Linked DNA regions of Homo sapiens: all the other regions are linked to region 4. The links are contacts of gene promoters, found by promoter capture Hi-C in blood cells and fetal thymus (Javierre and others, 2016). All regions are on one chromosome and are shown on one strand. The core of a region is centred on a gene start or on the middle of the fragment in contact, and the rest is flanking DNA. Distances in the headings are between cores, read along the strand shown.

What was found. Contacts are between HindIII fragments. The CHiCAGO score rates a contact against its expected background, and 5 or more counts as called.
Region 1: a fragment that was not itself captured here is called in contact with the fragment with the promoter of ID4 in region 4 in 1 of 17 cell types (endothelial precursors); the score reaches 6.5 in endothelial precursors.
Region 2: a contact is called between a fragment that was not itself captured here and the fragment with the promoter of ID4 in region 4, in 6 of 17 cell types (erythroblasts, endothelial precursors, M0 macrophages and 3 more). The highest score is 7.1, in erythroblasts.
Region 3: a fragment that was not itself captured here is called in contact with the fragment with the promoter of ID4 in region 4 in 1 of 17 cell types (endothelial precursors); the score reaches 6.3 in endothelial precursors.
Region 5: a contact is called between a fragment that was not itself captured here and the fragment with the promoter of ID4 in region 4, in 1 of 17 cell types (endothelial precursors). The highest score is 7.1, in endothelial precursors.
Region 6: a fragment that was not itself captured here is called in contact with the fragment with the promoter of ID4 in region 4 in 1 of 17 cell types (M0 macrophages); the score reaches 5.3 in M0 macrophages.

What each region holds. Positions count from the first base shown.
Region 1 is chr6:18,538,453-18,542,187 of GRCh38, forward strand. The region is part of intron 3 of MIR548A1HG (MIR548A1 host gene); the gene reads left to right. Among named protein-coding and RNA genes, the nearest start is that of MIR548A1HG, 18 kb to the left of the region's middle. The HindIII fragment of the contact is 2,520 bases long and covers 317-2,836 here.
Region 2 is chr6:18,592,276-18,596,300 of GRCh38, forward strand. All of the region lies in intron 4 of MIR548A1HG (MIR548A1 host gene), which reads left to right. Among named protein-coding and RNA genes, the nearest start is that of MIR548A1, 23 kb to the left of the region's middle. The HindIII fragment of the contact is 4,262 bases long and covers 572-4,025 here.
Region 3 is chr6:18,574,558-18,578,375 of GRCh38, forward strand. The region is part of intron 3 of MIR548A1HG (MIR548A1 host gene); the gene reads left to right. Among named protein-coding and RNA genes, the nearest start is that of MIR548A1, 4.7 kb to the left of the region's middle. The HindIII fragment of the contact is 2,005 bases long and covers 1,340-3,344 here.
Region 4 is chr6:19,834,754-19,838,656 of GRCh38, forward strand. It overlaps ID4 (inhibitor of DNA binding 4), which reads left to right and starts at 2,617. Exons shown (of 3, transcript NM_001546.4): 1 at 2,617-3,442; 2 at 3,831-3,889. The coding sequence starts at 3,002. The coding sequence ends at 3,875. The HindIII fragment of the contact is 2,827 bases long and covers 1,910-3,903 here.
Region 5 is chr6:18,517,422-18,521,499 of GRCh38, forward strand. No RefSeq gene overlaps it. Among named protein-coding and RNA genes, the nearest start is that of MIR548A1HG, 3.3 kb to the right of the region's middle. The HindIII fragment of the contact is 916 bases long and covers 1,552-2,467 here.
Region 6 is chr6:18,612,257-18,616,454 of GRCh38, forward strand. All of the region lies in intron 4 of MIR548A1HG (MIR548A1 host gene), which reads left to right. Among named protein-coding and RNA genes, the nearest start is that of MIR548A1, 43 kb to the left of the region's middle. The HindIII fragment of the contact is 4,543 bases long and covers 1-3,640 here.

The sequences.
Region 1 (3,735 bases), core at 327-2,826, 1.3 Mb before region 4:
TATAATGTGCTCAACTGATGGTGAGGATATAGGCAACTTACATATGAGGTGATAGTTTGACTACAATTGTTCATTGCTTAGATCTTCTTTCCCTCCCTCCTTCCCTTCCTCCCTCCCTTCCCTCCCTCCCTTTCTTTGCCTTGCCTCTCTCCTTCCTTCCTTTTTTTTTTTCCTCCTCCTACTCTCTTTCTTCTCCTTTATTGGTACTTTGTGATTTAGACTTCAGAGGGACAAGGACAACCATTGTTGGTTACACAGGATTATTTAATTAAATAAAATATACAGTTTTGAGAATTAATCTGTATAGTTAGGATAAAGCTTCTGTAACAAATAAAGCCCCAGATTTCGGTGATAACACAGTAGAAGTTTATTCCTTGCTCATATAACTGTCTAATGAGGGTGTCTCCTGCTGAAGGAGGCTTTTGTCCATGCAGTAACTCAAGGTCTTCGACTCCTTCTGCCTTGTGGCCTTTCCAGGACCTGGAATCCTCTACTTCCCATTGGTGCAAAGGGAAACCGAGTGTGGAAAAGGAGCCATTCTTAACCAACTTGGCCTGAAAGAGGGAAGCATCACTTCTGTTCTTATTCCATGGGAGAGCTGCCTAGATGGCCCTATGTAGATGATAGAGGGTTTGGGAAATTCTTAGTCTTATGCTGAACAGACACTTTAAGGTGATGATTCTATGCCATGGAAGCAAAGAACAGGTTTGAATGGACACAATTATGAGTCAGACACTATGCTAATTTCTGGAAAAAAAAAAGTAGGCAAATCATCATCCTTTGGGGGGGTGAGAACCACATAACATAGGTACTCAACTAACCAAACATGATATTCAAGTACTAAATTAAGCCATATGTAAGCACAGATGTAGGAGCAAATAATTCACTCAGAAATGAACTCAGGGCAGAAGCTGTTGAAGGAAAGCAGAGAGGAGGAAGGAGAGAGTGTCCGACCTGAGCTAAGGCATGAAGCTCAGAAGATGTCTGATATGTCCAAAGACTGGTGAGCTTCTCGATGTGTCAGATGACCAAAAACTTGGGGATAGATGGGACTAGAATAGAGAGGGCCTTGTGGGCTATGCCTTGTGCAGCAAGAACTAGAATTGAAATGATAATATGTATTGTGAGCTTGAGGCTGCAAATACAGGTCTCCTGACCCCAGTCCTTTTTTTGGATATTTTATTCCATATGTGGAAGGATACTGATTTGTAAAACTCAAAGTCATGTGTGACTTTTTATGATCAAAGGTGTTTGGTCTCTCACTGCATGTTCTCACTTATAAGTAGGAGCTGAACAATGAGAACACATGGATACAGGGAGGGGAACAACACACACTGGGGCCTATCCAGAGGGTAATGGCGGGAAGGGAGAGCATCAGGAAAAATAGCTAATGCATGCTGGGCTTAATACCTAGGTGATGGGTTGATAGGTGCAGCAAACCACCATGGTACACATTTACCTATGTAACAAACCTTCACATCCCACCCTTGTATCCCGGAACTTAAAAAAAAATGTATTTGGTTTCTAAGAACAAAAATATATTCCTGGCAGCCATGTTATTTACTGGGTAAGAATATGTCATCTTATAAAAGAGGCACATTAAAATGTATTAATTACCTCATCTGATTTCAAGGTTAATATTTCATCACATATTTAAGTTTCCTTTCCTTTCCCCCCAATACTTGCGGTAGTGAGTGTGCTTTCTTATCATGTCAGAGAGAGTTTGAAGTTCCAGGTAGCAAAAGAGGCTGAGGTTGTCTCAGTTGTTGCAGATGGAGATAATCTTGCACCATTCTGAGTAAGCCTGGCCTGGGAGATGGACCAAAAACTGTGTCATCAGAGGATGAAGGTGGGTGACCAGTGGCAGGACATATACATTACCTTCCCCCAAAGTTTTAGTAACCAGAATCAGGGGCCTGGTTACGAGGTGTTGATGTTCCTGTACCCATGGCTTATGCTGATCTATAGCATCATTAATTTTGTAATAAATATTTGCTATCCTTTTTTTTAGGTGATCTCAAGCTAGTTAGCCAATATGATCACTCTTTCCTATACTAATTTATTTTATTTTATTTTTTTTTAGAGACAGAGTCTTGCTCTGTCACTCAGGCTGGAGTGCAGGGGTGCAAATGTAGCTCACTGCAGCCTTACCCTCCTGGGCTCAAGCAATCCTCCTGCCTCAGCCTCCCGAGTAGCTGGGACTGTGGGCATGTGCCTTCATGGCCAGCTAAATTTGAATTTCTGGCCTCAAGTGGTCTTCCTGCCTCGGACTCCCAAAGTATTGGGATTATGGGCATGAGCCACCACACTGGCCTCTAGTCATTTTTATATAAAGAGAGACCAGCATAGTGAAGTAAATTTATATGCTTTTTGTTAACCTAAGAAATATTTAATGAACATCTATTAAAAATTGAGACTCTATCTGGACCTTGGGGTGGAGAGGAGAGAGAGATAGAAATATGAGTAAACTGAGGTTTTTGCCTACATCTGGTAGAGAAGAATACAGCTGTATATAAATCATTCCTAATACCACAAAGAGTGTGAATGTTTCGTAAGAAGGAGTGAATAGAAGGGAAAAATTGTAGCTGGAGAAAATCAGGAAAGGCTTAATGGAGTAGGTGCCCTGGGAACTGGGTCTGAACTTCTGGTGGAAGGATGTTAATCTAGAAAGAGAGGCTGGAACTGGGGCACAGAGATGCATACGTACAGGAGGGAATGTTTATGGATCAGGAGTCAGGGCTGCATTACACGGGGCAGGAGGAGGAGGGAGGAGAGGGCTGTCCAGGATGTTGGCATTGGAACCAGACTGTGTAGGGTCTTGAACACATGGCTAGGAAGCTTGGATCTAAAATGGGAAAGGTCTGCCTCCAAGCTTTCAAGCAAAGAAGGGATTACCCAGATTTTATTGGCAAGGGTTCTGAAGCTTAGAGAAGTTATCAGAGATAGGTCCAAGGTTACCTGGCCAGTTACAGCATAAGGAAGAAGTGGTTCAGAAGAAGTGGCTCATTATGAAATGAATGGGGTTTATGACACTGGTCATAGAGAAGGTTTGAGGACAAAGGCCAGAGGACATGAGCCCTTGGCTTTGTACGAGGACAGCACATTTTTCCCAGTGTAAGTCAGCCAAGTGTGAACACATTTAGGGCTCTTTGAAAAAAGAGATGCCCCCACCCCCTCCAGACCCCCAACACAAAGCTTTGGCTTCTGATTTTTGTTTGTTGTGTTTTTCTTCTGTAAATGCAGGTCCAATTATCCTTACTACTTTGAGCATCAGAGAGAGTTATATGGGTTAGAAGGACTGCTTATAAAATATAAACACAGTGATGATTATCAGAAAAAACCTTTTGAGAGAATGAAGAGGCAAAATTTACTATAACTTCAAATGGATAAGTGCTGTCCAACTGGCATTTTATTTTTTTAAGCTGAAAAATATAGAATAGGAAATGCTGGAAGATTTCCTTTTTAGAACTTGGTAAAAATTATAGCAGATGAACACTAGGCAAAATCAAGGGGGGATTTTGCTCACATATGAAAGTTTATAAGAAATCTAGTTGAGTCTGGTTTCAGTATTTGCTGAAGTTTGTGGCTGTGTCAACAAAGATGGGTTAAAGTAAGCATATTTTAGATCCTAAACAGAGCAGCCTCATAGTCTGGAATAGAGAGTAGCTTTAAAATGCTTTAAAATGGGTTTCCTTTTCTTTCCTTCCAGCTGTGCCTAGAGCTAGGGGAAGATAA
Region 2 (4,025 bases), core at 1,453-3,952, 1.2 Mb before region 4:
GGTTATGGCTGGAACCATGCAAAGGACACACTGATCTCAAAGTCTTGTTCATCTTTTTTGGCCAAGCTTTTGTTCTTCTTTATATTAAATGTTTTACAACCTTGAGGAGTAGAAAAGCAATATTTTTCAGGAAAATGAGCGCTGAAACTAAAGCATTAACCAAGGATCTCCTCAATTTTCTAATGGTCTCATTGTGCTCTCACACATTGCATCTAGTTTTTGTTGTTGTTGTTGTTGTTGTTGCTATTTTTCTCTAGATTATTTAAAAATCAAGTGAAAAACTAACTTTGCTTTTTTTAGGCGGAGAGGAGTGAATCCCTCGTTCTGATGTTATATTTCTTCAGTTGATCAGTGGAAGATGCTCTCACTCTCCTGCCCACCAGTTTCACTCAAAACCAGTCTTTGCCATTGCTAAATAACAAGTATCTTCATTGTAATTGTACAGGGCCAGATAGAAAGATTGGCTCTGGACCTTGTGCCCCAAGGACCAATAAAGTTGCAGTCATTCAGAAATAGTTCCAGAGCCAAAGCTTCCCTATTTAAAGTGCCTACATCCAATTCTTTAGAGTTAAGCTTGGTACCATTAGTTGAGTCTTCCTGTCACCTCTCAAGGGACAGTGGCAAGCTCTTATGTAGCATTTGTCCTAATTTTCTTGCTGGTATCAATGTCCCCAGAACTTTCCCTTCAGTTGTGTGGGAAGGTACTTCTTTCTTTGTTCTGCCTCTAGTTCCTGGAATGATTTGAACGTCTGTTGCATGCACAGTATGGGCTTTCTTCTGAATCAGGCTTTTTCACCCTGACTTTGTTCTTCTTTTTTTTTTTTTTTTTTGAGATGGAGTCTTGCTTTGTTGCCCAGACTGTAGTGCAGTGGCATGATCTCGGCTCACTGCGACCTCAACCTCCCGGGTTCAAGTGATTCTCCTGCCTCAGCCTCCTGGGTAGGTAGGATTACAGGCACATGCCACCACGCCTGGATAATTTTTGTATTTTTAGTTGACATGGGGTTTTGCCATGTTGGTCAGGCTGGTCTTGAACTCCTGACCTCAGGTGATCCACCTGCCTCAGCCTCCCAAAGTGCTAGTATTACAGGCATGAGCCACCACACCTGGCCTGTTCTTTGTTTTAAGCAGTGGCTACAGAACACTATACAAATAGATGGAAACATTCAGCTTGATTCCAAAATTACTTGTCCATTCTCACTTCCCATTATTCCCTTTCAAGCAGGATTATTTTTTCCTGTCTATGACTCTCAAATTATCGTCTGTGAATTGGAGCCTTTGCTCACATGGTTAACTCTGTCTGGAAGGTCTTCCTCCAACTTTGCATGTTTAAGTTTCTAAACATTTTACAGTGATCAGCTACTAGCCCACCTTCTCCATGAAATCCTTCTGGATGTTTGTAGCTGGAGATACACTCTCCCTTCTTTGCACCCCTACATCTATTCAATAGTATGTTGTGCCAATAGTGTTTATGTCTTGGTGGACCTAGGCTGCCACATTTTTGGAGGCAGGACTTTGCTTCCTTGAGGTTGGTTTCCAACCAAGAACCCTCTTAGAGAAGTTGCTCAAAAAGGTTTATTCAGGCCAGGTGCAGTGGCTCATGCCTGTAATCCCAGCACTTTGGGAGGCTGAGGCTGGTGGATCACCTGAGGTCAGGAGTACCAGACCAGCCTGGCCAACATGGTGAAACTCCGTCTCTACTGAAAATACAGAAATTAGCCGGCGTAGTGGCAGGCGCCTGTAGTCCCAGCTACTTGAGAGGCTGAGGCAGGAGAATCACTTAAACCTGGGAGGTGGAGGTTGCAGTGAGCTGAGATCAGGCCACTGCACTCCAGCCTGGGTGACAGAGCCAGACTCCATCTCAAAAAAAAGAAAAAAAAAAAAAGAAAAAAAGAAGCAGATGTGTTTGTAGGTGCATGTCTGTGCTTTGGAGAAAACTTAAGTTGAAGTTTTGGAAACTGGTTTGAAAAATAACAGTAACCTCATAGTATATGTAGTCAATTATTTCATGCAAAGTATTCTATGTCCTGGGAATAGATGTCTTGGTGTTCTCTAAAACCTGAGAGATATGTCGCCCCTCTAAGTTTTGCTTCAATTCAAATTTCCTAGAGTTACAGCTAGGCCCCTCAGGAGCTGACTCATGATTGCTGTTCACCTTTATTAATTTTTCTGGCACTGAAACATGTACTTTGAGTTTTTTTTTTGTTTCTAAAAGTACATAGTCACATCAGAGAACTTTCTCCGACTTCTTTCCCCTCAGTATCCTCTGTTCCAAAGTATTTTCATAGTGGAAGGTAGCAGTTCTATACCCTCAAAGTTAAATTTAATTGCTATTTCATAAACTTCCAATGCAATTCTCTTTTCTTCTTTGGAAATAGGGGATCTTTATGGCACAAACCTTTCTAGTGATTAGCAAAATTTCAGTAGTAAATTTACATATAAATAAATTTGATTCAGAAAAGCCATGCACTGCACATAATAAAGTGATTTATAACAGGAAAATCTAAAGAACTAAAACACAGACTCTGCCCTCAAGGAACTCAAGGCAGCAACTATGACAGATACATTTTTAAAAAAGAAACATAGTCCTGTGTCATATGTATACAATATAGCTATTAATAAAGAATATAAAAAATGAAGCATTTAAGAGTCTCACAAGAATATTGTCATAATTAGTGAGATACTGTGGAGACACCTTCATGAAACTGAAGGTCCATTTCTGTTTAATGGGGATATCAATGGTCATTGCATAGTAGGCCTCTTTTATGAAATAAATAAGTTAACAGGGCTAAGGCCTTTAAATACTGGCTGGTACATGTTAAGCTGTCAATATGTGCTAGCTACTTTCAATGGTCATTTCTTGTTGCTATGAGCTATTTCAAAGCTCTTCATAAATAGATGATAATGCCACCATTTCCCAAGTAGGGAGAAAGACTTGGTAATAATAGTTATTCAAACTATATAGAATACGTTGCAATAAAGGATTATGCCACCTAGAACTGTGGAGTTATCACTATTGAGAAAAAGAATTCCGGGTCTTTTTTTTTTCCCCCATTACAACTCAACTAAAAAAAGAGACCCTTAGTGTAAAACATGTAGCCTGCACACAAAAACATGTCTGATTGACTTTCAAAGACTCACATAAATTAAACATCTCTTGGATAACATCAAACCTAACCAGTTAGTTCCCAGGTCTCTATATAAATTGCCACATAACTTTGTGCCAAAATGAATGATGGTGGCTGTGTCTCCTGGATGACCAAAATCAGACTTAAGGAGTGAAAAAATAAACTGAGCACATTCTTTATTGCCACATCAACAAAATGAAACAAAATGATTACTTATTTTTGGGGGGTTATGTTGATGACAGATATTGTAGGCATATCCACTCACTCTCAATTTATTTTTAAACACCCAGCACAGTCGGGGTTACACAGTGAGGAAAAGTCCAGCTGAGTGACCTCGGAACAGTTGCTACCAATGCCAGACATCAATTTCACCCTCTTAGATCAGAATATACCTCTCTTGTTCCTTCCTGAACTAAAAAGCTACCACCTAAAGAACGTAATTATATTGTGGATACAATGATTTGGCATTCATTTCAAAGTTTCTTTTAAAGGAATAGTTTAAAGTGTGTGTGTTACAAAGTGCAGAGCATTGCTCAATGTTGATTTGTCAAACGATGACAATTTAGCCCTTGAAACAAACGTTTCCCAAAATAACAGCATTTGGGAAACTTTGAGCTCTATTTCAGTCCTTTCAGAGAAACTGAGAGGTCTTTCACATTCTGAAGGCAGAACACTGAGTAATAGAAGAAACGAGAAGTCCTCTGTCTCCATCCCTCTGCCTGGGGACCCACTGGACTATTATTAGCATGGGATACAAAATAGATTTGGTAAATATTGGAAAAGTCTTGCCAAGCAGCGTCTCAAAGACATATGGTCTTTTGTAAGTGCCATGATCATTATAAACAAGCAAGATGTTCTAATTAAGGAAAAGTCTTTGTAAGGCAACTTGTTTTACAA
Region 3 (3,818 bases), core at 1,092-3,591, 1.3 Mb before region 4:
CCAACCTCTGGTAACCATCCTTCTACTTTCTATGTCCATGAGTTCAACTGTTCTGACTGTTAGAGCCCACAAATAAGTGAGAACATGCGATGTTTGTCTTTCTGTGCCTGGTTTATTTCACTTAACATAATGATCTCCAGTTCCATCCATGTTGTGGCAAATGACAGGATCTCATTCTTTTTCATGGCTAAACAGTACTCCATTGTGTATATGTACCATATTTTCTTTATCCATTCATCCATTGATGAACACACGTTGCTTCCAAATCTTGGCTATTGTGGACAGTACTGCAAGAAACATGGGAGTGCAGATATCTCTTCGATATACTGATTTCCTTTCTTTTGGGTATATATTCAGCAGTGGGATTGCTGGATTATATGGTAGCTCAATTTTTGGTTTTCTGAAGAACCTCTAAACTGTTCTCCATAGTGGTTTGACTAATTTATATTCCCATCAACAGCGTACAAGTGTTTTCTTTTCTCCACATTCCACCAGCATTTGTTATTGCCTGCCTTTTGGATATAAGCCATTTTAACTGGGGTGAGATGACATCTCATTGTAGTTTTGTTTTGCATTTCTCTGATGGTCAATGATGTTGAGCACTTTTTCATATGCCTGTTTGCCATTTGTATGTCTTCTTTTGAGGAATGTCTATTCAAATCTTTTGCCTATTTTTGGATGGGATTATTAGATTTTTTTTCCTATAGAATTGTTTGAGCTCTAAACTATAGAGCAGTTTGCAAATATTTTCTCCCATCCTTTGGGTTGGCTTTTCACTTTGTTGATTGTTTCCTTTGCTGTGCAGAAGCTTTTTAACTTGATGTAATCCCATTTGACCATTTTTGCTTTGGTTGCCTGTGCAACCAAACTAATGTCCTGGAGATTTTCCTCAAATTTTTTTTGTAGTGGTTTCATAGTCTGAGGCCTTAGTTTTAAGTCCTTAATCCACTTTGATTTGATTTTTGTTCACAGCGAGAGATAGGGGTCTAGTGTTTATTCTTCTACATGTAGATATTCAGCTTTCCCAGCATCATTTCATGAAGAGACTGTTTTCTCCCCAGTGTATATGTTCTTGGCACCTTTGTCCAAAATGAGTTCACTGTAGGTGTGTGGATTTGATTCTGGGTTCTCTATTCTGTTCCATTGGTCTCTGTGTTTTTATGCCAGTATATGCTGTTTTGGTGACTATAGGTGTGTAGTATAATTTGAAGTCAGCTAATGTGATTCCTCCAGCTTTGTTCTTTTGAGCATTAAAGGCAAAGAAAATGTGGTTGCACAGAGGCATCATTTTTAAAGGAAATAGTCTGTTGTAACAGAGGAGGATGCCCATTATCTGTGAAGCTTAGAACACTGGATGTCCTCAGTCCTTCCCTTCTGTGCACTAGAATTCTTTGTCTAGCTGGTTAAGGAAAATAAAACTCATTCAAATATGAGTAAACAAAAAAGAGCTGGCATAGCATTTATACAGAGATCTATTAAATTGTGGAAAACAATAGAAAAACGTTCCTATAGAAGAACGAAATGCACCAGAAAGCTATTGCCAAGATGCAGATAAAACTTGTAACTTAACATCCCATGAATTAAAAATAAAAAACTTAATGGAGTAATAACTGTTATTATTATTTTTAAATTAAATTAAATGTAATTTAATTTTAAGTTCCGGGATACCTGTGCAGGACATGCAGGTTTGTTACATAGGTAAATGTGTGCCATAGTGGTTTTCTGCACCTGTCAACCCATCACCTAGGTATTAAGCCCCACATGCATTAACTATTTATCCTGATGCTCTCTCCCCAACCCGCCCCACAGACAGGCCCCAGTGTGTGTTGTTCCTCTCCTTGTGTCCATGTGTTCTCATTGTTCAGCTCCCACTTATAAGTGAGAACATGCAGTGTTTGGTTTTCTGTCCCTGTGTTAGTTTGCTGACGATAATGGCTTTCAGCTTCATCCATGTCCCTGCAAAGAACATGATCTCATTCCTTTTTATGGCTGTATAGTATTCCATGGTGTATATGTACCACATTTTCTTGATCCAGTCTATCATTGATGAGCATTTGGGTGGATTACGTGTCTTTGCTATTGTGACTAGTGTGGCAGTGAACATATGTGTGCATGTATCTTTATAATAAAATGATTTATATTCCTTTGGGTATATACCTAGTAATGGGATTGCTGGGTCAAATAGTATTTTTGGTTCTAGGTCTTTGAGGAATTGCCATACAATAACAGTTATTTTAATGAAAGTATACAAAGCAGAAATATGAGGACTCAGGGCTGGACAACAGAAAATGAGGAACAAATTAAAGGAGAAGGTAAAATGGGATTTGGTAGAAACCATGAAAGAAATAAAAGTACAAATCAAAATTATTTCAGAAGTAAAGACTAATAAATTAGATTCAGCACAAGGAAGAGTAGACACCATTGAAAGTACAGTGAGGGACAAAGGAGGTAGACATGAAATGAACGAGAAATACAGAGATAAAGAGGATTAGAGTCAAAATTATAGGAATAAAGTACGAGCAAAGGAGATCAAATACATTCACATAGAGTCTACCAAGAGAAAACCGAAACAAAAAAACAGAACAAATATTTAAAAATACAATATTTAAAAATACAATTCAAGAAAACTTTTCAAATATAAAATAAGGCATGAATCTACGTATTTAAAGAGCTTATAATGGACCAGAAAATTGCTCTAGAGAAGTCAAGACAAATCCTAAAATGATTAGAATAAAGAATGAATATTTTGAATGAGCCTGTAAAAATATCAAGTCACTTATGATGGGATGAAGTTGGGCAGGAGTCGGACTTCTTTAAAGATATGAATCTACCCTTAGAAGATTTTTTTTTTTAAAGAATGAGCCAAAGATTTTATATGTGGTTAAAATATCTTTTACATCTGAAAGATTCTAGAAAAACAGATTTCAATGTGCAAGAACACAGGAGACATTATTCATGTCAGCCCATTTTGAGGAAATGATTAGAGGAGGAACTCCCGCCAACCAAGCAACGGCTGGGGAAATGTCAGTGAAACTGGCAGTGAGAATTAAGGCAGTAGATTTAAGTCCCAAAGCAAAGAAGGGGAAAATCCAAGGGGCAAAGTCTGAAAGCAGTGAAGGGAGTAAGCCCCAGCATATATCTGAAAGGGCCAAACCTTGATTGGCAATGACATGCCTCCTTCATTGGACAAAAGGAAGTAGGAAAAGCTGATTAGATGAAGGAAGACAGTTTCTATTTTCTCTGTGATGTAAAGGTTAAGTCTGTTCACCAAAATAAGGGGCTAGGACTGGGGTAAGGGTCAGCAATGTAAAGAAAAAAAATGTGTGGAAGAGAGTGAGAGATCAAGCTTCCAGAGAATTATAGTAGAAATATGTATAAGCAGACTTTGTTGCTTAAAGAAAATCTGCAATGAATCTCTTAGTTATAGCATACTATTTATTATGAGGTATTTGAATTTATTTATCCTGTAAATTGGATGTTGAATAGTGTGCAGAAGTTTGAAGTAGAATTGTATGTTATTTTGCATCTGTTGATATATTTCTTTCCATTTTTAAGTGCAAATCCATTCACTTAGTTTCATTTTTCTACTGTATTACAATGCACTGAGGATAAGGGATATCTTTTCATGGCACCCAACTCAGTACTCTGGTCACTTCATGTGTTCATTCAATAAATATTTGGTAAATTAATAAATGAAACACAACTATAATATTTCATTCTGCTTAATATTTATTTTCTAACACTCGTCTTTAAAGATCCACATGAAATTAGTCTTACTTTTAATAATAATTTAATTTTCAGGCTCCGAGAAAGTAATA
Region 4 (3,903 bases), core at 1,367-3,866:
CAGTGCCAGGAATCTTCCATGATTGCAGCTTTGATGTCATGTAAGTGTCTATGTCTAAGAATACAAAAACATACATTGCATAGCCCCTAGTACTCTCTGGTTTCATGGACCAAAACGTGCAGGATTGTATTCCTTATTCCCATAGTATATGGTAGCACTTTAATTTTTTAATGTCTTCATGCCTTCCAACCTTCAAAACAAGGAGCACAGTAACTGCCTCTGCCTACTCTGCTAGCAGGATTTACGGATCACATCTTTCCTGGGTATTCTTGATCTTGTGGCTGAGGTACATTCCTTTGAAACCACCTCTTCCACCCCACCCCACACAGAGTAACTCAGTCTTTCTAACTTTAAGCCAGTCACACAGAGCATCTCCAACAAAACCTGAAACTTAGGCATTTGGCGCTTGTCACACCCAAGGCATGGCTTTCTGAGATTTAGCAAATTCCAAAAAGGTCGATATGATTCTTCCTTTGTGTTACGTATTCAAAACTTAAATTTTAATTTTAATCGTTAGGATATGTAAAATGTTTAAATGTAAGTGTGTCCTGGGCATATTAGCATAGTTTTATTTTGCCAAACAGAGGAAAGTCTTGGGTTTTGAATTTGGAAGCAAATTTTAAACTCTAGGAAAGAGAAAGATCAATGGAACAAAACATCTGTACATATATCCATTTATTATTATCGTCTGTGCTCATATGACTGGCTCCAAGATAATAGCTTACAACCAGTAGTGCTGGCTTCACCGACTTCCCATTTAAAATTACAACATTTTCTCTGTATTTGCATTAATTTAATGATGTATATGACTATGCCTGTCTTTAGAAGAAAGCCCTTCTGAGTTTCATAATTCTGATTTTCTCGATTAATGTGTATGTAGACCATCTACGTATGCACATAAATAAATGAGAATGGCACTTGTTTCCAAACAATTATTAGAAGCAGTAACATACAAGGATTAGGGGAGAGGAGGGTTATTGCATCTACCTGTGAAACCAGAATTAAATAGTTGCTCCTCATTTCATCAGGAGAAAGGAATGTGCTCTGGGGAATAGTGCGATAGTCATAAAGCACTGACATAGCTAAACAAAATATCTGCCTGGTGCAGGTATTTCAGTTCTGGGAATGGATGTAGAAAAAGTCCATATAGGGGTAGACAGGAAGAAATGAGGTCCATGTCTCTTTCTTTCAATTATCTATGAAAATGAAGACACCAATCCATGTCATGTACACGAATGAAGAAAATTCTTGGGTTAATTCATCTCCAAGCGTGTCTAAAGGTGGGAGGGTTTGTAGAGTGAAGGCACTCAAAATTCATTTCCCCATTGTCTGAGAATTTTTATGCACCTTTCTCATCTGAAGGGCTCAATTTTTTCTTGAAGGGTACACACAATGCTCCACCAAAGCTCATTGTGCAATTTTATTTTGAACCCTTGAAGGACAGCTTTTCTCTAAGAAATCTAACACAAAAACGCCCTTAATTAACAGGCTTTTTTTTGCAGGGTGGGGCCCAAGCGGGATCCCAGAGACTGGAAGTGTGAATTTTAATGCTTTGCTGTCAAAGGAGGCGACTCTGGACATTCTCATCACCTTATTTAAAGCGGGGTACGCTGACTAATACGTGAAGCTGTGCATTAATGGCCTAAATTAAGTTACAGGTATGAATTTTACATAAAACAGATTAATATTATATGTCATAATGGAATTTTAAATATTCCGTGTCCATGCATTTTTAATCTTTACGTGCTCTAATTGAATGCGCAAGGCAACTGCATTTCTTGAGCCCACTTTTGCATTTAGATGGGGTAAAAGAACCCCCCCCACGTTTTTGTTTTATTTATATTCCCTTCACCAAAAACCTGCATTCGATTCGGCATTCTTTTCCTTCTTTTTTTTTCTACTTTTGCTAAGCTTTAGCATTTTTTAAAAAGAAAACGGAAAGGCTACACATTCCATTCCATCATTATGGTTTCGGCAAATGTGAAAAGGCGAATAATGAAACGGAGGAGGGAAATATAGAACAGAATGAACGTGCCTTCTTGAACAGCGCGTCTTTCTTAAGGCACTGGAATCCCACGGATGGAGTGATGGGTGGCGGAGGGTCCCTGGGCGCCGTGCTATTAGGAGTGGCAGGGTATCCGCGAGCAGGGCCCAGGCGCTCCCTCAGCAGCCTAGTCGGGATAAGGGGGGCGGTGGAGAGTGAATTCCGGCCGCACATTCCCGCAGTTCTTCGCAGGAACTTCGCTCTCTCTTTTCCCCTCCCTTGGGCACACATCAGCCTGGCCCGACTCCCACTCAGCTCTCTTTTCTCAGAACCCCGACCCACAGCGTTGACGGAATGGAGTGCCCTTCCCATTGGCCCGAGCGTCATTCCCCGAGGTGGCACTGCCCGCCTGATTGGCTGGCCACTCCAGACCCCCCGCCCACTCCTCCACTCGGGTAGCCGGACTCCCCGCCCCCCAGCACCGCCCGGAGCCCCCGCCCTCGCCTCTCCCTCCGCGCCCCCGCCCGCGCGCCCAGCGGGCTCCGCTCGGCTCGCGCTGCGACCCGGCCCGCGCGCTGGTCCCGCCCCCGGGGCGCACGGCTCTATAAATACAGCTGCGCGGCGGGCCGGGCGAGAGCGTAGTGGAGGAGGCGCGGTTGTGAGTAGTACCGGGAGTGGGGTGATCCCGGGCTAGGGGAGCGCGGCGGCCGCGATCGGGCTTAGTCGGAGCTCCGAAGGGAGTGACTAGGACACCCGGGTGGGCTACTTTTCTTCCGGTGCTTTTGCTTTTTTTTTCCTTTGGGCTCGGGCTGAGTGTCGCCCACTGAGCAAAGATTCCCTCGTAAAACCCAGAGCGACCCTCCCGTCAATTGTTGGGCTCGGGAGTGTCGCGGTGCCCCGAGCGCGCCGGGCGCGGAGGCAAAGGGAGCGGAGCCGGCCGCGGACGGGGCCCGGAGCTTGCCTGCCTCCCTCGCTCGCCCCAGCGGGTTCGCTCGCGTAGAGCGCAGGGCGCGCGCGATGAAGGCGGTGAGCCCGGTGCGCCCCTCGGGCCGCAAGGCGCCGTCGGGCTGCGGCGGCGGGGAGCTGGCGCTGCGCTGCCTGGCCGAGCACGGCCACAGCCTGGGTGGCTCCGCAGCCGCGGCGGCGGCGGCGGCGGCAGCGCGCTGTAAGGCGGCCGAGGCGGCGGCCGACGAGCCGGCGCTGTGCCTGCAGTGCGATATGAACGACTGCTATAGCCGCCTGCGGAGGCTGGTGCCCACCATCCCGCCCAACAAGAAAGTCAGCAAAGTGGAGATCCTGCAGCACGTTATCGACTACATCCTGGACCTGCAGCTGGCGCTGGAGACGCACCCGGCCCTGCTGAGGCAGCCACCACCGCCCGCGCCGCCACACCACCCGGCCGGGACCTGTCCAGCCGCGCCGCCGCGGACCCCGCTCACTGCGCTCAACACCGACCCGGTGAGAGGCCGGGCGCCGGCCGTGGGCGGACGCCGCGGGGGATGGGAGGTTGGTGGCGTGGTGGCGGGACGCGGGCGCTCACCGTCCTCCGGGCAGGGGCGGGCCAGGAATGACAGCCCCCTCCCCCTGCTCCTCCGGGCTCCCCCGGGCCGCCAGCAGCCGGCCGGGCTCGGCGAGCGCGGGTCCGGGAGAACGCGCAGGGCGGGACTCGGGGCTGTGGGCGCCCTGGGCTGTCAAGTCCCGCCTGAGCCCGGAGGGGCCCCCCCGGCTACAGGCTGGGGTGGGGGCGTCGGCGCGCCAGCCTGATTTCCGAGGACAATCCAGGACCGTGTCGAGCGCGTTGTTTGCGCCTGCTAACCTTTCCCTTGGTGTTCGGTTGCTGTTCCAGGCCGGCGCGGTGAACAAGCAGGGCGACAGCATTCTGTGCCGCTGAGCCGCGCTGTCCAGGTGAGCGCGCATTT
Region 5 (4,078 bases), core at 760-3,259, 1.3 Mb before region 4:
AATTCTCCTGCCTCAGCCACCTGAGTAGGTGGGACTACAGGCACGCACCACCACGCCTGGCTAATTTTTGTGTTTTTGGAAGAGACGGGGTTTCACCATGTTGGCCAGGCTGAGCTCATTCCTTTTTATTGCTGAGTAAGAATATGCTACAATTTTTTATCCATTTATCTATTGATGTACATTTGGCTTGTTTCTAGTTTTTGGCTACTACAAGTAAAGCTGCTATGAACAGTCATGTATATATTGTGTGGACATATACTTTCATTTCTCGTGGATAAATAGCTAGGAGTAGAATGGTTAGGTCATATGGTGACTGCATATTTACATTTTAAGAAATTGTTTCTCAAAGAGGTTGAACAATTTTACATTTTCACTAGTAGTGTATGAAATTTCTGGTTGCTCCACATCCTTGAAAACACTTGATATAATCAGTCTTTTCAATTTTAGCCATTCTAGTGGTTATGTAGTGGTGTAGTTGAACATTTTTTTCATGTGCTTATTTGCTATTTGTATATCTTTTTTGAAGTGTTAATTAAAATATTCTGCCCATTTTTAATAAAATTGTGGTGGTGGTGTTAGAGTTTTTAAAAAATGTATTCCAGATATCAGTCCTTTAACAGATACATTATTTGTAAAGATTTTCTCCCAGTCTAGGGTTTCTCATTTCCTTTTTAAAATAGTGTCTTTGGATAAAGTCTAATTTATGGTTTCTTTTTATTCCTGTATCCAAATCTTTGCCAAACTAAGGTCACTATGATTTTTTTTCCTATTGTGCTCTAGAAGTTTTATAATTTTAACTCTTGTATTTAGGCTTATGTTTTATTTTGAGTTAAATTTTGTATATACTAAGCGGTAAGAATCAAGGTTCATTTTTGTGCATATAGATACCAAGTTGTTCCAGAACCATTTATTGAAAAGATTATTCTTTCTCTTTTAAATTGTCCTGGCACCTTTGTCAACAATCCTAAATATGTGGGTCTATGTTCTATTCTAATTCATTTATTGATCTATTTTTATGCGAATACCACACTGTCTTGGTTAATGAAACTTTGTAAAAGCTTTGAAGTTAGGCAGTACGAACCCTCTGGCTCTTTTTTCAAAGTTGTTTTTCCAAAGAATTTTCTACAGAGTCAGTCGTGTTATCTGCAAATAAAGCCAGTTTTATTTCTTCTTTTCAAATCTGGATGCTTTTCAATTTTATTTATTTATTTCCTATTGCATAGAATAAAATCTCCAGCACTGGATACACATGTTCTCTGTCATAAAGAGAGGTTATAATTCTCAACTAGAGGAAAGATTTATGAAATGTTCCTTGGTGTATAGCATTTTAGATTTCAGTTATAGAATGAGATTGTGTGCTCAGGATTACCTGTCTGCAATGCCTGATATTTTCCTCTTGGGCAGGCATCCAACTAGTATCTGAGAGGGAAATCCAGTAGCCAGAAGGAAGGAATCTGCTTTACATTAATTCTCAGGACAATATTATTTGACTATATACAGATAGGATAATGATGACATGATAATTATAGGCAGGAAAGCTATGAAAAATAAAGCTTGAAGTAGGATCTGAACACCTCGTTTTTGAAGGGTATCTCCAAATATTTTATTGGAATACCAGATATATGAATTTCTCTTAAGTTCATAGGCTTCAAACGTTCTAACAAAGCACAGTCCTGAAAAAATAACTTGAGGGGCTTCACCGAAGAAGATATACAAATGGCAAATAAGCACATGAAAAAAATGTTCAACCACACCAAACATTAGGGTAATGCAAAGTAAAATCACAATGAGACATTACTACATACCCACTAGAATGGCTAAAATTAAAAAGACTGACCACATCAAGTGTTTTTAAGGATGTGGAGCAACCAGAAATATCATACACTACTGGTATGTAAAATTGTTCAACCTCTTTGAGAAGTAGTACACATATGCACAGAGTCATATTAAAATGTTACCTATGCAACTGTCCTATACATTAAAGTTATTAAAAGATCTGAACACTTAGGAAAATAGGACTGAATAAGCAATTAAGTATTTTTTTTCTTTTCCTGCAGGTGAAATTTCTCAGGATTAAAAAATTCTCTAAAAACATCCTAAAGGAAATTTTTTTTCAACAATTTTTCTTCTATGAATTCACTTTTCAGTTCACATTTCTGGAGAAAAAAACTCAGTGAAAAATTGATGAAAAATGTTCATCTAAATGGCAAAATATTCTAAGCTAAGCAAAAAGCATTTTTTAGATGCCAGTGATTGAGTTACCAAGGGTGGGTATTGGTTGCGTAGGATGGAGTGAGCCCAGGAGGTCCCGGCTAGGAGAGTATCACTACTGACCCCAACATATGCTGGGATTGTTGGGTTTGCCTAAGAGCAGCGGGGTTTCAGTTTATAGTACCTATCTCTCCCCACCCCAATCCTTTTGTGATCAATAGAATATATTAAAATGACAGCTTGCAAACTATGAAAAAGCTTGCAAACCTCACAGAAGAGAAGTCTTTAAAAACTATTAAAAATTTTAAAGACACAGGGTCTTTCCATGTTGCTTAGGCTGGTCTCAAATTCCTGGGCTTAAGTGATCGTCCTGCTGTGGCCTCTGTGTAGCTGCTGTGCCATTGTGCATGGTGAAGATAAGTTTTTTAAAATTATTATTTTTGTTTTATTATACAAGTAGTATGAGTTCTTTGGGAAATCAATTTAAAAGCATATTTCGCTATCCAAGTAAACATAAAAATATGCACTTTATTTTTATTTTTATTTTTTTTTTGAGATAGAGTCTCACTCTGTTGCTCAGGCTGGAGTACAGTGACGAGATCTCAGCTCACTAGCAAACTCTGCTTCCTGGGTTTAAGCGATTCTCGTGCCTCAGCCTCCGGAGTAGCTGGGATTACAGGCATGTGCCACCACATCTGGCTAATTTTTGTAGTTTTAACAGAGACAGGGTTTCACCATGTTGGCCAGGCTGGTCACGAACTCCTGACTTCAGGTGATCCAACTGCCTCAGCTTCCTAAAGTGCTGGGATTACAGGCAGGAGCCATTGCGCCTGGACTACATATTATTTTTTTTAACGTATAGATATCCATATATTTTCTAAAATATGGGAATCAATATATACGTATAGATTTATCCTTAAACTTGTTTTATAACATACAATTTTCCATATACTTAAATATTCAAAATCACAAATATTAATATTTTATAACATTATTTCATATGTATATAATTATTTAATCAATTCCCTGTATTTAACAATTAGGTTGTTTCCAATTTACAGCATTACCAGGATTGCGGAGATTGATATTTTTGTGTTTATTTAGATTATTTTTCCATAATAAATTCTCAGAAATGAAAATATTGCTGAAGGATCAAAACACTTTTGAGATTTTTGCACATTTTGACAAATTTTGACCTAACAGATTCCTAGTAGCAGTGAGTGAGAGTACTCATTTCATCATATACCTGACAGCAGTGAGTATTATTTTAAAAGACATACATGCCAAGTTGAGGGAATAAAGTGTTATCTCTGCTTCATCTTTCATTTCTTTGATTACCAGTCATGTGGGACTTTTAAAACATAACTGTGTTAATGGTCATTTCTATTTACTCTTTTGTAAATGATCATTCTTTTATTTGATCAATACTTATTGATTGCCCACTATGTGTGAAGCACTGCAGAAGGTGTAACATTCAGCAGCAAATGAGAGAGAGACAGCCCCTGCCCTAATGGAACATAAAGTTTTTTTTTTCTTTTGAGGACAGAGTCTCAGTCTGTTGCCCAGACTGGAGTGCAGTGGCACAATCTCGGCTCACTGCAACCTCTGCTGCCTGGGTTCAAGTGATTCTCGTGCCTCAGCCTCTGGAGTAGCTGGGGTTTCAGGCGTGTGCCACCACATCCGGCTAATTTTTGTATTTTTAGTAGAGACGGGGTTTCAGCAGGAATCACTGCTGACCTCAGGTGATTCGCCTGCCTTGGCCTCCCAAGTTGCTGGGATTACAGACGTGAGCCACTGCGCCAGGCCTTTTATGGTGGTTTTTGATGTGAGTAAGTGATATACAAAAGTGTAGGAAAATTGGTCTCCC
Region 6 (4,198 bases), core at 119-2,618, 1.2 Mb before region 4:
GCTGGAGCAGTTTTGGGCTTTCCTGAAATTTACATTTGTGGATTTCTCTCACGTGTGTGTGTTTTTTTAAATAGAAAAGTCTTTTCGAGTTTCTTTGAGATGATTGGTGAAACTAGAGCCGAAAATGGTATAAGGAGAAATAGATAAAGTGAACCAACTATTGGAAGGTGGGGATGGTAGAGTAAGATAAGTGAAGTGTGTTTTGGGGACTTTCTAGTTCCATTAGTTTTGTTCACAAAACTGAAGGTTAGCATGTTTGTGTGTCCTCGTTGCTAACTTTGTCAAAACTTTGCTTTCTTACTAGCTCTAAAATATAAGGGACTGGTTACTCTTAAAGTTTCTCCTTGCTTGGACAACATCCCCTCTATTATTCTGAAATCACTCTGGGAGTGATTACCAACCACGATAATCATACCCACAGTGAACACTTTCTGATCACTCATTATGTATTAGGTGCTGTTCCAAGCACTTTCCATGCTGTCTCTCACATCATCCCCCCACTTCCTTATGTGTTTGGTGTAAACTCTCATCACTGTCTTATGGATGGAGCATGTGAGGGCTATCAGATAACTTGCCGGGGCTCACATAGCTAATACGTGGTGGAGCTGGGATTTCAACCAATGCACTATCAATAATGTTCCAGAAATTTTTTCTCAGGATATCATTTGATCAGGGTTGTTTGATGACATAGTGAAATGTTGCAACTGATAAGGAGAAAATGAAGTTGGCTAAGTATTTTGTATGGACCATAAATGAATTATAACCTGTGTGCTTGGTCTTCCACTTTCAATGGGTTCTCCTGGCAAATGTGATAAGACGTCTGAGAACAAAGCAGTCATGGAGAAGACAGGAAATCATGATAGGCTGACAGTCATTGTGGAAATAAAACAAATGTTGAGGTGTCCTTAAAGTCTAATCACTAGTCTTATACTCTAAAGGGAAACTTTGATACCAAGCATGAAGAATTTAACCCTCTTCATAATTCCGAATACTGGGCATATAATTTGTGTGGGGATTACAACCTGAATCTTCTTAGGTACCTCCGGTTTCTGACACAGCAGCAGTCTTTGAATCACGGAGTGTTTTTTCCCTGCCGCTTAATCTTTGTAGCAGCCAATTTATAGACGGGAGGAGTTTTTACTTTATCTGTTCCAACCACACTTCCACTTTATACTTTTGTACTGGGAAGCAGCTTTGGCTGTCTGTGGCTCAGTGTAGGTGTGCCAGTGTGAGTGCACTTTCCTGTGTGTGTATCTGGATATTCCTAAAGATGTTGGAAATAATAGTGAACAAGTAAGGGAGGGAGAGGACCTTTATTGTGTAACAAACTGAAGGCACCAAGGAGGCTGCATTTGTTGTGAGTCAAAAGGTTTATACAAAGATTTTCTTAGTAATGTCTAAGATTTTAATAGGGTAATTAATCTTTTTAAATGTTAGTGCCAGATTATGGGATCAGCTATTATCCCTGGCTGCAGAGTGGTCCTTTGTGTGTTGCTATGAACAGGGCTAAGTGAAGAGAATACTCAGGTTGCCAAACAAAGATATGGCTGCAGCTAGCTTGTTTAGGTTTTTAAATGCATTTTCTTGTGCAGTTAAAAGAACTCCTGTTTCCGTGGGGCTATCATTGCCCTTTAATAGCCATTGAGTTGAGGGGAGAGATAGAGGAATAAAATACAGGCTTTTTGCTTTTTACTTCTTAACAACCAATTATTATTATTTTTAAAATAATGATGGGTATATTCATTCGAGACCTTATTTTAAGTCAGGAGAAACAATTTAACAGAAAGAAAGCTCTAAAAGAATAGGAGTGAAAGGTTTTCATCTGATTTAAAAGTTTGGCCTGTTTCTCTTTCCTTAACCTAAGTTTAGTGAAAATTGCCAAGCAATCCAGCAAGCCAACAAAAATGAAAGGGAAAACACAGCAGCTAATGAGACTTGGCTGTGGCCTTTAAGCAAGAGTGATTATTTAACATAGCTTATCAAAATATTGATTAAAAATAGATGGCTTGTTTCTTTCAAGTTTCGATACATATGAAAGAAAAAAAGTTCAGAACATAGGGCATCATGTAAAAACCCTGTAGGTATAATGATATTGTTGCAGCCCAGCCATGACCTCTGCTCTGGCTTTGCTTAAACTACCCCTTGGCTTCGACTTGGATTTCTGCTCTCGCTGTCTAAACGAGGCAGTTTGTCAGAACCACATGTCTATTTGTTTGGCAATTGATTGTAGTTGCTGCTTATTTTCCAAACTGTTCCAACTATTTTGTTTACATGAACTATTGTGATTCTCAGCTGCTAAATACTGCTGTAGACAAGATTTCTCTTTTGAATTGTAGCTCTTCCCCTGTCCATGGGGCCACACCCTTTGTGTTAGCTCCTGTATTGTAACCAGCTGTGTACCATAGGAAAGATTCCTAGGTTTGTTCTTTCTTGCTCCTTTCCCTTCCTTTCCCTTCCCTTCCTTTCCTTTCCTTTCCTTTCCTTTCCCCTTTCCCCTTTCCCCTTTCTTTTCTTGGAGTCTCACTCTGTCGCCAGGCTGGAGTGCAGTGGTGTGATCTCAGCTCACTGCAACCACCGCCTCCTGGGTTCAAGTGATTTTCCTGCCTCAGCCTCCCAAGTAGCTGGGACTACAGGCACTTGCCACCACACCCAGCTAATTTTTGTATTTTTAGTAGAGACAGGATTTCACCATGTTAGCCAGGATGGTCTCCATCTCTTGACCTAGTGATCCGCCTGCCTTGGGCTCCCAAAGTGCTGGGATTACAGGCGTGAGCCACCGCGCCTGGCCGGTTTGTTCTTTCTTGAATAACATCTGTATTTGGGGCATTAAGTTCTACTTATGTTTGAGGTACACCAGAGGTTGCTGGTGGACAGTGGGAAGACATTCTGTAATTTTCTTGCCGTTTATATTGAAGTGATATGAGAATGATGACTTACACAAGATGTATCCAAGTATTCTCCTGTGTAGAGCAGAGCGGTGTGTTTTACGCAAAGTTTTGAGGAGTAGGGGAGAACTTGGACTGAATGTTTTAGTGGTCTTAGAGTCATATTAGTGCCTTAAACATATCTCTAAAGCAGCAGTCAGTCATCTCTCCCTATCAAACTTACAGTACCTGAGCTGGTGGGAGGAGGGCCAGAGGAAGAGGGAAAGATGCTCATGAGAGTAAGAGGATGGTTGGGATGCATGGGCATGTCACACAGCCTACATGCCAAAAAATGGGTCATGCAGCAGCCTGGGGTGGGGGTGCATGCCAGTGTAGCCCATATATTTTAGGTGATACTTGCAAGTGATATTCCCAGACTGTTGCTGCTCTTGAGGGAATATTACCCAGAGACTTTCATAATATTATTCAATGATGGTCAAATAAGAAATTATGTTTCTCAACAAAAGGGATTTAAAAATGCTCTTCTCATTGTCACACCATGCAGAATGTTGATTATGCTGGACAGGTGAATCTAAATAGTACATGCAAAAAAGTGTGTGAGTGGCTGCAGCATCTGGCAGTCATTCCTGTTAATAACTAAAAGTAACTGCCAACATTTTGCACAGCATATATGTGGGAGAAAAGCATCCTGGATAAATCAATAATACTGATTCAGGATTTAAAATGAGTATTAGCCTTTGTGGATGAAAAGCCCAAGCTTTTGGGGCAATTCTTAGGGATTAGCATACTGAAGCTATTCAAGAGACAGGAAGAGGGTCAGCACTGCCTGGAAGAATCCCAGATGGAGAAGAGGAGAGACAATTTGTTAGATGAGGAGGAAGTGGATATTGAAGTTAGGAAACACTGTATACTCCCTATTAGTGGTTTTATATTAGTGTGTGCACGTAGGTTTTATTTCAATGTATGGCTTGTAACATATCCTTTTGTTTTACTAAAACTCTGAATGTTGTTGAGTATTTGGTTGGGTGGACTGTTCTTGACTTTTCCAGGCAAGATTCTGGGTCCCATATTGGCTCAAATGGAGAAGTAGGAGCTCAGATAGAAAGCTGCCTTGATAAGCCTTACTTCTGAGTGAGTGTGCTCAATGCCAGTATAAGTGAATAGTCACAATGGTAAAGTAAATAAGAAAATCCTCATTTAGATTGCATTTGAAATGTTGCTAAGGACATGCTGTCAATGTGGATAGGTAAAAATCTTTCTATGGCTTTTTTTTTTTTTTTTTTTTTTTTTTTGCTGGCCATTGTAGAGGTGAA